Linked DNA regions of Homo sapiens: all the other regions are linked to region 4. Evidence: promoter capture Hi-C in 16 types of primary human blood cells and fetal thymus (Javierre and others, 2016). All regions are on one chromosome and are shown on one strand. The core of a region is centred on a gene start or on the middle of the fragment in contact, and the rest is flanking DNA. Distances in the headings are between cores, read along the strand shown.

The links. The method cuts DNA at HindIII sites, captures the fragments that hold promoters and counts their contacts. A CHiCAGO score of 5 or more calls a contact.
Region 1: a fragment that was not itself captured here is called in contact with the fragment with the promoter of TMEM237 in region 4 in 1 of 17 cell types (fetal thymus); the score reaches 5.5 in fetal thymus.
Region 2: a fragment that was not itself captured here is called in contact with the fragment with the promoter of TMEM237 in region 4 in 2 of 17 cell types (megakaryocytes and endothelial precursors); the score reaches 8.3 in megakaryocytes.
Region 3: a fragment that was not itself captured here is called in contact with the fragment with the promoter of TMEM237 in region 4 in 2 of 17 cell types (endothelial precursors and erythroblasts); the score reaches 7.0 in endothelial precursors.

Annotation. Positions count from the first base shown.
Region 1 is chr2:201,223,926-201,226,625 of GRCh38, reverse strand. It overlaps a transcript of CASP10 not described here. Among named protein-coding and RNA genes, the nearest start is that of CASP8, 35 kb to the left of the region's middle. The HindIII fragment of the contact is 4,030 bases long and covers 1-2,700 here.
Region 2 is chr2:201,257,853-201,260,552 of GRCh38, reverse strand. It overlaps CASP8 (caspase 8), which reads right to left and starts at 17. Exons shown (of 9, transcript NM_001372051.1): 1 at 1-17. RefSeq lists enhancers at 1,713-2,132, 2,153-2,212, 2,209-2,353, 2,313-2,442 and a cis regulatory region at 2,281. The HindIII fragment of the contact is 954 bases long and covers 974-1,927 here.
Region 3 is chr2:201,379,416-201,382,115 of GRCh38, reverse strand. TRAK2 (trafficking kinesin protein 2) reads left to right here. Exons shown (of 16, transcript NM_015049.3): 16 at 898-2,700. The coding sequence ends at 1,573. Among named protein-coding and RNA genes, the nearest start is that of FLACC1, 23 kb to the right of the region's middle. The HindIII fragment of the contact is 3,042 bases long and covers 1-2,700 here.
Region 4 is chr2:201,642,253-201,644,952 of GRCh38, reverse strand. TMEM237 (transmembrane protein 237) reads left to right here and starts at 1,450. Exons shown (of 13, transcript NM_001044385.3): 1 at 1,450-1,594. The coding sequence starts at 1,553. MPP4 (MAGUK p55 scaffold protein 4) reads left to right here. Exons shown (of 22, transcript NM_033066.3): 22 at 1-79. RefSeq lists silencers at 1,332-1,591, 2,162-2,351. The HindIII fragment of the contact is 8,699 bases long and covers 1-2,700 here.

The DNA.
Region 1 (2,700 bases), core at 103-2,602, 420 kb after region 4:
AGATTTCTTTTGGGGCCAGGCGTGGTGGCTCACGCCTATAATTTCAATACTTTGGGAGGCTGAGGCAGGAAGATTGCTTGAGGCCAGGAGTTCAAGACCTTCCTGCACAACATAACAAGACCCTGTCTCTACAAAACAATGTTTTTAAGTTTATTTTGGGACATAGATCCAAAAATGGAATTGCTAGATTTTACTGTGTGCAAATTTCCAACATTTATAAATATTGCAAATTGCTCTCTAAAATGATTGTGTCAATTTACATTTCCTAGATCGATGTAATAGAGTTCCCTTTGCTCTGTATCTTCACCCACACTTGGTACTGACAGAGTTTTAAATGTTGATAATATGATGGACATAAAATGCTATCTCACTGTGGCTGTATTTTTCAAATTCTCTGATGACCAAAGAGAATGGTTATGTTTTCATATATTTATTGCTCATTGGTATTTCCTTTTAATTACTGGTTCATATTTTTTGCTCATCTTTGAACTAGTTTATATTTTTGCCCATCTAGGTTGGATTGTTTAATATTTTATGGATTTATAGAAGATTATATATATAGTATATGTACATATATCTCCTTTATCAGTTATACAACGTGGCAGATATCATTTCCCAGTTTGTGGCTCATCCCTCAGGTTTTGTTTTTGTTTTTGTTTTGAGACAGAGTCTCACTCTATCACCCAGGCTGGAGTGCAGTGGCATGATCTTGGCTCACTGCAACCTCCACCTGCCAGAGTCAAGCAATTCTCATGCCCCAGCCTCCCATGTAGCTAGGATCACAGGTGTGCGCCACCATGCCCAGCTAATTTTTTTTAGTACAGACAGGTTTCACCAAGTTGGCCAGGCTGGTCTTGAACTCCTGACCTCAGGTGATCCGCCTGCCTCGGCCTCCCAAAGTTCTGGGATTACAGGCGCGAGCCACCACACCCCGGCCTCATCCTTCAATTTTTAAATGTTGTTTTTGATGTTTTAAAATAGTCAAGAGGCAAGTGTTTCTTCTTAAATTCACAAATGACAGCTCCATAGTGGGTTATCAAGAGAAAAGGTGGGGCTTCTCAGGAAATATCTCTAACCTTTTAGGTTGAGATCATAGAGAATTCGATGATTAGTAAAACAGACCGAGAGTGCAAAAGGGTGATATAACCAGGGAAATGTCACAGCATTGCCGAAACCCCTGAAAGCCCATTGGAGGTTTGTGGTCATTGGTTTGAAACGAGACCTGTCTGCAACATGGAAGGTTTTTACCCCAGCCACATCCTGGAATTCCAGTACAAATTTGGAGGACAAGGATTTATAGGATTAACCAGAGTTGGGATTCTACCACCTCAGTGGAACTGACAGAAAGGCAAGGGTGTTGGTGGGTACAGGAGACTTTAACAAAGACACATGGACTCTAAGCTGAATGAAGAGGGAGTGAGGGGCGGTGCTGACATCGGGAAGACAATAGATAGGGTCAGTCAACCTAACTGGAAGCCCTGGTGGCACTGAAGATCCTTGAAGGGAAGGTCCTAGAAGAAGCAAGATGGAATGATGGGAGGTGGTTGTCAGAGAGGGACATGCTTGGAATTGAAACGTGAGTGAAAGTACAGATGGTAGTAATGACAAAGTTTACTGGATGCATGATTGGGGGGACATGGAGGATACACTCATTGAAAAAGGGTGGGGAAAAATCTGTGACAAACACAGAGTGAATAATGGGAAAATACATAGCAAAATAGAATTATAAATAAATATACTTTTTTCTTGGTGTGTTTTTGTATTTCCCAAATATTCCATAATGAACATACATTACTATGTAATCAGAAAAAAGTTATCAAATAAAATTCCCTTATTTATTAGTAAGTCCATTTCTACTATTTACCAGTACTCAGCTCAAAATCTCACAAAGTTATTTCCATTCTAGAATTTCACCAGTATTTCCCAGGCATTTTACAGAATCACTTAAAATGAGACCTACTGAGACATGTAAGTTTCACAGCATATGTTCTTTCTTCCAAGAAATACCTGTCTGAAATATGTATGCAGAAGTGGGGAGGACTGGGTATACAGTGGACAGAACTGGGGGCAAAACTCTTCTTGAACACCTTTAATTTTCTTATCTTCAAACCATACAAATATCTTTATAAAAATATTACCTACTCAAAATTACTTAAAAAGTAAAAATTAGTACAATTTAAAATTTTTAATTTAAAAATCTTTTCATAAAAATTCAGATTTGCAAAAGTTATGTTAGGAAATAAACAGTTGTTTGCATTGCCAAATAAGTAAATCTTTAAACACAGAATTTCCTCTAGTGCTTTTTAAAAGGGATTTCATTTTTTTTCTAATGTATTAAGAGTTCCATTTTTTTTTGGCCAGGCACGGTGGCTCACGCTTGTAATCCCAGCACTTTGGAAGGCCAAGGCGGGCGGATCACGAGGTCAGGAGATTGAGACCATCCTGGCTAACATGGTGAAACCCTGTCTCTACTAAAAATATAAAAAATTAGCTGGGCGTGGTAGCGGGCGCCCATAGTCCCAGCTACTCGGGAGGCTGAGGCAGGAGAATGGCATGAACCTGGGAGGCAGAGCTTGCAGTGAGCCAAGATCGAGCCACTGCACTCCAGCCTGGGCAACATAGCAAGACTCCGTCTCAAAAAAAAAAAAAAAGAAAAGAGTTCCATTTTTAAAAAACACCTGCCTGTAGCCCCAGCTGCCA
Region 2 (2,700 bases), core at 201-2,700, 380 kb after region 4:
GACAAGAGCAAACGTCTAATGAAGGACGGAAGGGCACAGCCAGCCAGCTCTACTTCCTGTTTCGAAACTCCTGAGTCACAAACACTAGAGGGGAAAGAGCGCTTACCACTTGCCCCTGAGTGAGCAGAGTGCCTTCTAAAGCTTCTAAAGCTGCAGGAAAAAGGCCTGGTGGTCCAGGAGACCGCACGCAGGGCACCTGGCCACCTGAGCACTGGCCCCTGGCTGTGACTTTGGATGGGCCATTTTACCTTTGGGGCCTCATTTCCACATTCCAAAACAAGGACGTTGGACTGGATTGTAACTAAGAACACTTTCATTTCATATTTAGGATTTAAAGATTTTTCTGGGTTCATCATTAAGACTTTAATTTTTTCATTCAATGAATCTTGATGGAGCACCTCAGAGAGGTCTTGAGATTGGACACTGCAGAGCCCTCTCATCTTGGTTCTCAGGGTGGCTGTGAACTTTCAGAGCTAAAGCCCCTGGTTTAGCCAAGGAGCATCTCTGTGGCCCCAAGGTCACCAGATTCCACCCTCAGCAGCCTAAAATACTCTAAAATTAAAAAAAAAAAAAAACTCTAAAAAGAAAAAACTCTAAAATGAAAAACCTCTAAAAAGAAAAAACTCTGAAATAAAAAAATTCTAAAATGAAAAAAATCTAAAAAGAAAAAACTCTAAAATGCAAAAACTCTTTGGTAAGATGGTAAGTCCATCTTACCAAAGGTGATCCTTGTATATGAGTGTAGCTGAGGAAACCATGAAGTTAGCTGAAAGCTGGGTTTACCATCTTATCAAAGAAGCAAATCCTGGGGCCCTCACCATGTTGGGCTCTAGGGATATACCAGTAAACAAAATATTGCCTTCATACTGAGAGTTAGATGAAATGTTTTCTGATATTAAAAGTAGGAAAAGAAAATCAAACACCTCTCTTCTTTGAAACTGCCTTTTGTCTTTCCCCAAATAGAATATAAGCTTTCAGAGGGTAGGGACTCATAGCTGAGAAGACTGAACGAAGTATCTGAAAAGGACTCTTCACCAGAGAGGGCTAGGTCAAGATGGCCTCATAATATCAATGCCTGGATGGCCACCGTGGCTCATGCATGTAATCCTAGCACTTTGAGAGGCCAAGGTGGGAGGATCCCTTGAGCATAGGAGTTTGAGACCAGCCTGGGCAACAAAATGAGACACCATCTCTATGAAGAAAAATTTTTTAATTAGCCAGGTGTGGTAGCACGCGCCTGTGGTCCCAGCTAATCTGAAGGCTGAGATGGGAAAATTGCTTGATCCCAGGATGTTGAGGCTGCAGTGAGCCGTGATTGCACCACTGCACTGCAGCCTGGGTGACAGAGCAAGACTTTGTCTCAAAAAATAAATAAATAAAAAAGAAATAGAAACAGAATGAGCAAAATAAAATACCAATAGTATTAATATGCAATAATAATTGCTAACTCGTGTAGTAAGTGATGTATGCGTATTATCTCCTTCAAGCCTCACAGTCACCTCTGGAGGCATTATTAATCATTTAATGATGAGATAACAGAGGCACAGAGGAATTACTTGCCTGAGATCGCATAGTTAAAAAACAGTGTACACATACAAAAGAAAAATACATTTTGCAAAGATACAGATAAATTCACGAATCCACATCAAAACATTAGAGAACTGTCTTTGGGGAACAAGAGAGAGGGCAGGAGGGCAAGGGTGGGGGTGGAGAGATAAAAGGAAACCCTTCAGACACGGAAGAGGGGGAAGGGGCTGTGCACCTCAGGGCATCGTGATTCGACAGAATGACAGAATAAAGTACTTAACCGTCGGCCCCAGGGCCAAATGAAAAAGAAAAAAAAGTGGATTGATAAAGTCTTCTGGACTCTCCAAACGGGTCCACAGGAGGGAGACCGTGTATCTGCATTCGAGGCGGCAGGGAAGCTTGGAGGACAAAAAGGTAGCAGAGGAACTGGAGACTGCTCAGAGTGAAAAAGTAGCAAAGTCAGAGGCAACGGCTCAGAGAGAAACCACACAGGAGACCTGGGCCAGGCAGCACCCAGAGGTGTCCTCAGAAGGGCAGATCCAAGTTGCTTCCCCACCCCCACAGCCCTGTTTCTAGAGCAAGTCAAGAAACAAAAATATTGTGGTTTCCTGTTGAAGAGGCCACCTTGGCAACAGGCACTCACCCGCTCCACCCTTTCCTGGCACCATCGCAGTCTCCGAGTCCCCTAACCTGCCTAACTCCACGTGCTCAGCAGGGAAGGGGGTGGGAAAGGCTCCCAGGAAGAAGTTTCTTTTACTTTCAATAACCACCCTGGCTCTTCTGCCTCCCTCCATGGCCTCACTTCCTGTTGAGTTGACTAGCAAATTCAGCAGGGCTTGAAAAAAAACACAAAAGATAAAAGGAGGAGAACCTGTGAAAACACTTCCCTCCAGCAGAAAGGCAGAATCTGGTCTCCGAGAGAAAGAGAAAACTTCACCACAGAAGGAACTGCAGGGTAAACTTTACTCCTAAAGCAGAACAGAGATGACTCACTCGAACAAGAAATGTTTCCTGTTTAAAGGAACAGATGCCCAATTTCCAACCATTCAGAAGAGGGATGTGGCAGACAATTCATGGACGTGCAAACTAAAGCCCGAGCGCTGGACATGCTTTATTGGAAAGCATTTATACTGACTCCATTTAGTAATAATAACCCCTGTCGGTGGCAAGTAA
Region 3 (2,700 bases), core at 9-2,508, 260 kb after region 4:
TAAACCGAGGCATGGAAGGTTGAGGTGACTGGTCCTAGGGCAGACAACTAATAACCCAGCTGGGGCTATATACCCGGAGTTAGCCAAACTGCAAGATTTACAGGGCCAGTCCTCTGCACAAGCTCACCTTCACTTCTGTATATTCAGTAGTATTACTGAATACTGAAGTAATACTGAAGAAGTATTACTGAATAGTTGTCGAAGCTATTAGTTATTTTTAATTTCCTAAAAACACATGTTTCAGGTCAAGGTTGAGAAAAAATTCATCCTATGGATATTTTTATACCATTATTGTTTGAAATTAACATTTCTTGAGAAAATGAAATTTAACAATTAGAAGTTTTTATTTCTCAATGAAATAAAATTAAAAGATTAAAAAGAAAGAAACTTCTCCCAGAAGAGTTTTCATGTTTAATTGTGAAAGATTGTATTTTTTTAAAAGTTGGTAAACTGTTTACCCATGGATTATTGTCTCAATGTATCTCACTTTATGGAATGGATATATGAATAAACATTCTAAATTACTTTCCTTAATCTTCAAATTTCTTTGCCTTCTATCATAAAATTTAACTGTATTTCTACAGATGTACATTTTAGAGTTAAAATTTAAGAGTAAAGTTATCTAAGAGTACAGCAATACCTTTCATATCCCACTGAAAAGAAATATCTTTTAATAAGTTAATTACTAAGTTATGAATTACAAATAATTAATCATTGAAGTATCATGTCAAAATTTTCATTCCCCAGATCTGTTCCACAGCATACAGTTACGGATGTGTTTGTTGCCTGTTACTTTATATTTACCAAGGATAACTACTATAATTTCTTTAAATGCCAGCTTGGAGCTTGCTTTTTATTCTTAAACACTGTCTCCCACTTTTTTTTTTTTTTTTTAAGCTCTGGGTTCCCTTCATTATCCTGTGGAAGTAGCGGTAGCAGTTCATCCAACACGGCTGTGAATTCTCCTGCCTTGTCCTATAGACTCAGCATTGGTGAGTCCATCACCAACCGACGAGATTCCACTACAACCTTCAGTAGCACCATGAGCTTGGCCAAACTTCTACAAGAGCGAGGCATCTCTGCCAAAGTGTACCACAGCCCAATTTCAGAGAACCCCCTCCAGCCTCTCCCTAAATCCCTGGCTATCCCTTCCACACCACCAAATTCACCATCTCACTCACCTTGCCCTTCTCCTTTACCCTTTGAGCCTCGAGTGCATCTCTCTGAAAATTTTTTGGCCTCTCGACCAGCTGAGACATTCCTCCAGGAGATGTATGGCTTGAGACCCTCCCGGAACCCTCCTGATGTTGGCCAGTTGAAGATGAACTTAGTGGACAGGCTGAAGAGACTGGGGATAGCCAGAGTGGTCAAGAACCCTGGTGCCCAAGAGAATGGAAGATGCCAGGAGGCAGAAATTGGTCCTCAAAAACCAGATTCTGCTGTTTATTTAAATTCAGGTAGCAGTTTATTAGGTGGACTAAGGAGGAATCAGAGTCTTCCAGTCATAATGGGTAGCTTTGCTGCCCCAGTTTGCACATCCTCACCCAAAATGGGTGTCCTGAAGGAGGACTGAGGTTCAGCAGTTAACTGACCTTTTATACAAGTTAGCACATGAAGGATAGATATGCACTGAAACATGTGGTCTGGTCTGACTTGAGAGAAAAGGAATGTTGCACAAGGGTTGTGAATGTGAAAGGGGGAATGGAGGAATGGAAATAAAATTGGGATGAGCCCTAATGGAGGAAGTCGGGCAAATTGAAAGTATAAATGAATGGGCCATGAGTGTTCAGAGGGAGAAAAGAAAGGTTTAATATACTCCTTCAGTTGAGTTTTCTTGTCTTGAACATAAAAAGTGAATACAAATAAATTCAGTAATACTAAAACATACAGAGATACTGAACTTGCTGGCACATTTACTTCTGGTAAGCATAAAGCAGAGAGAACCCAGGTTAGAAGGATGGGAAGAGAAAAGGAGCAGTTTTATTGCTTATAGAAAGCCGTTCTGAGGGGTTGGTGGGGTAAGCTCAGTCTATTACTGAGACAATAGTGAGATGGCTTATATGTTTCCCCTGTTAATATCTGGTTAAATTATGTATCCATCAAATGGTATGCTCGCAGCATTAGCAAAATTAGGAGTTTCATCTTTTTCATTGAATCACAGGTGGAGACTCCTATTTTCCTTTCTGTTTTCAGGCCTTTGAGCCCCTGGGAGCCCAAATACCACTCAATTATTTTGTATTTATGATTAATAAAAGTTCATTTTTTAAATTTGTATTTTTATACAACCTCCAAAAAAAAAAACAACTGGGTAGAGGGTGGGAGGGATTTACTTTTAAGAGGCAAAATGTGAGTAAATTGAAACCAAGAAAACTTGTTTTTAGAATATTTCGTCTGAATAAGTACAGTAGCCAAGGAATACAAACATAATTGCATGTTTTTAAAAATTCCTTGGAGGCTGGAAGGGGTTAAGCCAGAAGTGCAATCAATAGGAATTAGGGAATGTTGTATATTTATATATGTAAACTTTTTTTGTAAGAAAAGTTGGTGACAACTAAACCAACTTTTTCCAAAGTGCGCTATGCATATTTTTAATGAAAGATGACATGTATTTGCACAAAAATTCTCAGGCACATTAAATTATTGTAAACTGAAGTAAAACCCGGGTGCTTGCTTTGAGATTGTGGTTTTTTCTTCCTAATG
Region 4 (2,700 bases), core at 201-2,700:
CCTTTCGCAGATTTCACATGATCTTTTTAAGATTTAAATAAAGAGCTTTCCTAAATAAAATAAGCAATAGTTAACTTTAGAAACTGTACTCTATGAAACGTGTTTTATGAAAACATCTTTTACAAAAAGTGCTTACTTGACTAACTCAGCAAGAAAGGTTTAATGTACACATTTCACATCTAAAATCAAAACCTACAAGAAACTGCACTGCCTTCACTATTTACAAATCGGCCTACAAGGAAAAAATTATTCTCATGAGAGGTGTGACAAACACTAATTTTCCTTAACAGCCAATATCTACATGCAGGCCTAAATTAGAAAAAGGCAATGGATTAATCCCAGAGACCTATATATAGAAAATCACAAGAGTGAAACCGTGTCTCAGAGTTAAAGAAACCAGGGACTAACAGAAATTCTTGAGCATGCAGGACGGCAGATAAAAAACAACTTGCTAAATAAAACGCCTAAACTTCTTCCATTGTGAGATTAAAAAACAAAACAAAACAAAACAAAGCAAACTGGCTGAAAGTGGTTAGTACTAACACGGATGGCTACCTGGAGTCTGTACAAAATGAGCTTGCTGGCGTCACAGCTTGAATCTTTCCCCATGTTTCACACTGACTCCCTCCAAAATTTGCACATGCGACCCATGAAGGGACATGAAGAGGTAACTGCGAACGCCAGAGGATTTTCCAGATGGCTTCTTTCCTTCCACCAATCACCTACTAATCCCAGAATCCACCCCCTAAACGTTTTCTAATAAAAATACTGTCTTAAAGCCAACACAGGGAGACAGATTAGAGCTATACTCCTGTCTCCTTGTTAGCTGACTCACAATGAAAACTTTTCTCAAAAAATCAGCGCCATAATATTGGCTTCTGTGCGTATAGGGCAACAAGCCCCGTTTGTTTGGTAACAAGATTAGGATGCCATTACAAAGTGCTGTTTCTCTTTCTTTCCCCAGATTTGAGATTTCCAGGCGCTTTCCCTGTCCCTGTATCTGTTCATCTTCTGCATCATTCTCTTCTCCATATCCACACCATTCTTCCATCTTTCCCATTTCTTTCTTAACTGTAAAACAGAATGCATGATTCAAAATATTTGTAGTTCTCTGTTACTTAAAGTGAAAGTTATCTTTAAAAAAAAACAAACCCAACCAAACCAAACGATGCAAATCAGGTAGTTTGTAGTGATATTTATGTGAGGTTGGATTTGATTTTAAGGTTGAGAAAAAGTTTTTCCAAATTTGATTTACACAGTTGTGGGATGAAGGGTAAGCAATCGGAGAAAATGTGAGAATTGCCTATATTAATACACATCCACACACCCAGGCCTGCACAGACTCGTTGGTCCTGGAGAGTAAACGCATTCCTCCCAAACCCAGCAGCGCCTGGCAGGACAGAGGCGGGCGGGGACCTGGCTCAGGGGGCGGCTGCCTCGCCAGGCGCCACGAAGCCCCGGCGTCCCACAGGTCCCGGAGGCCGCTGCGTCGCGGGGAGCTGGGCTCGGGCCGCCGGCGGTTGCGCCGGGGCAGCCCCGCGGGGAGAGCACCATGAGGACTGACTCGGGGGCTCGGCTGGAGGAGGGCCACCTGGTGAGCGGCGAGGGGCGCGTCGGCCTCGAGAGGTGGCGGGTAAACAGCTACACTTGGCAGTGGGGGTGGGTGTGTGTGGGGGGGCGCCAACGAGCTGGGAATCACTAAGGGAGGGCCTTGCTCGTGGGGTGCGCGCATCCGCCCCTCCAGTGTTCACAGGAATGGGACGGAGACGCAGGCGAGGCCGGGACCGAACTCCCGGAGTGGGAGAGAGAGGCCTGGCATGAAGTTTGCGGGGACCTGAGCCCGCGTTGCCACGACGACGCCTCACTCATCTGAGGCCCGGGGCCCGGCGGGTGCCGGGGCTTCCAGCCAGGCCTCTCCTAGACTCCTCCGAGGAGAGGTCTGTAGCTGCCCAGAAGAGATCTGTTCGCCTGCGGAGTCCTTTAATTAAGGTCTTCCGTCACGCCCCGCTTCCCGCAAACAAATCACCGCCACCACTTAGGAAACCACGGGAAAGCTGTGATTGCAGCGCCACGGTCGCCAGATTTCTGCTCCTGGGCACATTACCCCCAACTCCGAGGCCCCCTTTTTGGCAGGGCTAGTCTGGACTGGCCAATCCAGGTCCCTGCACGCCTCTCACCGCAACATCCCCGCAGGGCGCTGCGCGCGGGGTACTAGCCAGGCGGCGCGGCCCGATGACGCATTGCGCCTGCGCGCGCGACCGAGCCGGGAGGGGTGGGGCGCCAGGTGCTTGGGGGCCGGCGGCCGCCGAGGCCGGCTAAACGCAGAATGGGGAAGAATCCTGTGGTAAGCGAGCCTTAGCTACTTTTAATTGTTAGGATTTTTGTCTTCAGTTGAGCCGTCCTACTTTTGAGGATTAGAGGTTGGGTCTCTGGGTGGGTGGAACGTCATTTTTGCGGGACTTTTGAAATCAGTTACGTGAACAGAGCCCTGGGATCGATCGCGCGCGCTTCGTAGCATCTTTAGAACAATAGCGCGTTCCTGTGACTGTCATTCTTCTCCAATTGTAATTTTGACTACTGGATGGTATTACGGCAGCTTGCCTCGTCCTAATCTTGTAGTACTTGCATTAATCTACTGTTCGAACGAATGGATTGCTAAATGGGACAAACTACAAGAGTGTCTAAAATTTAACCCTTTTG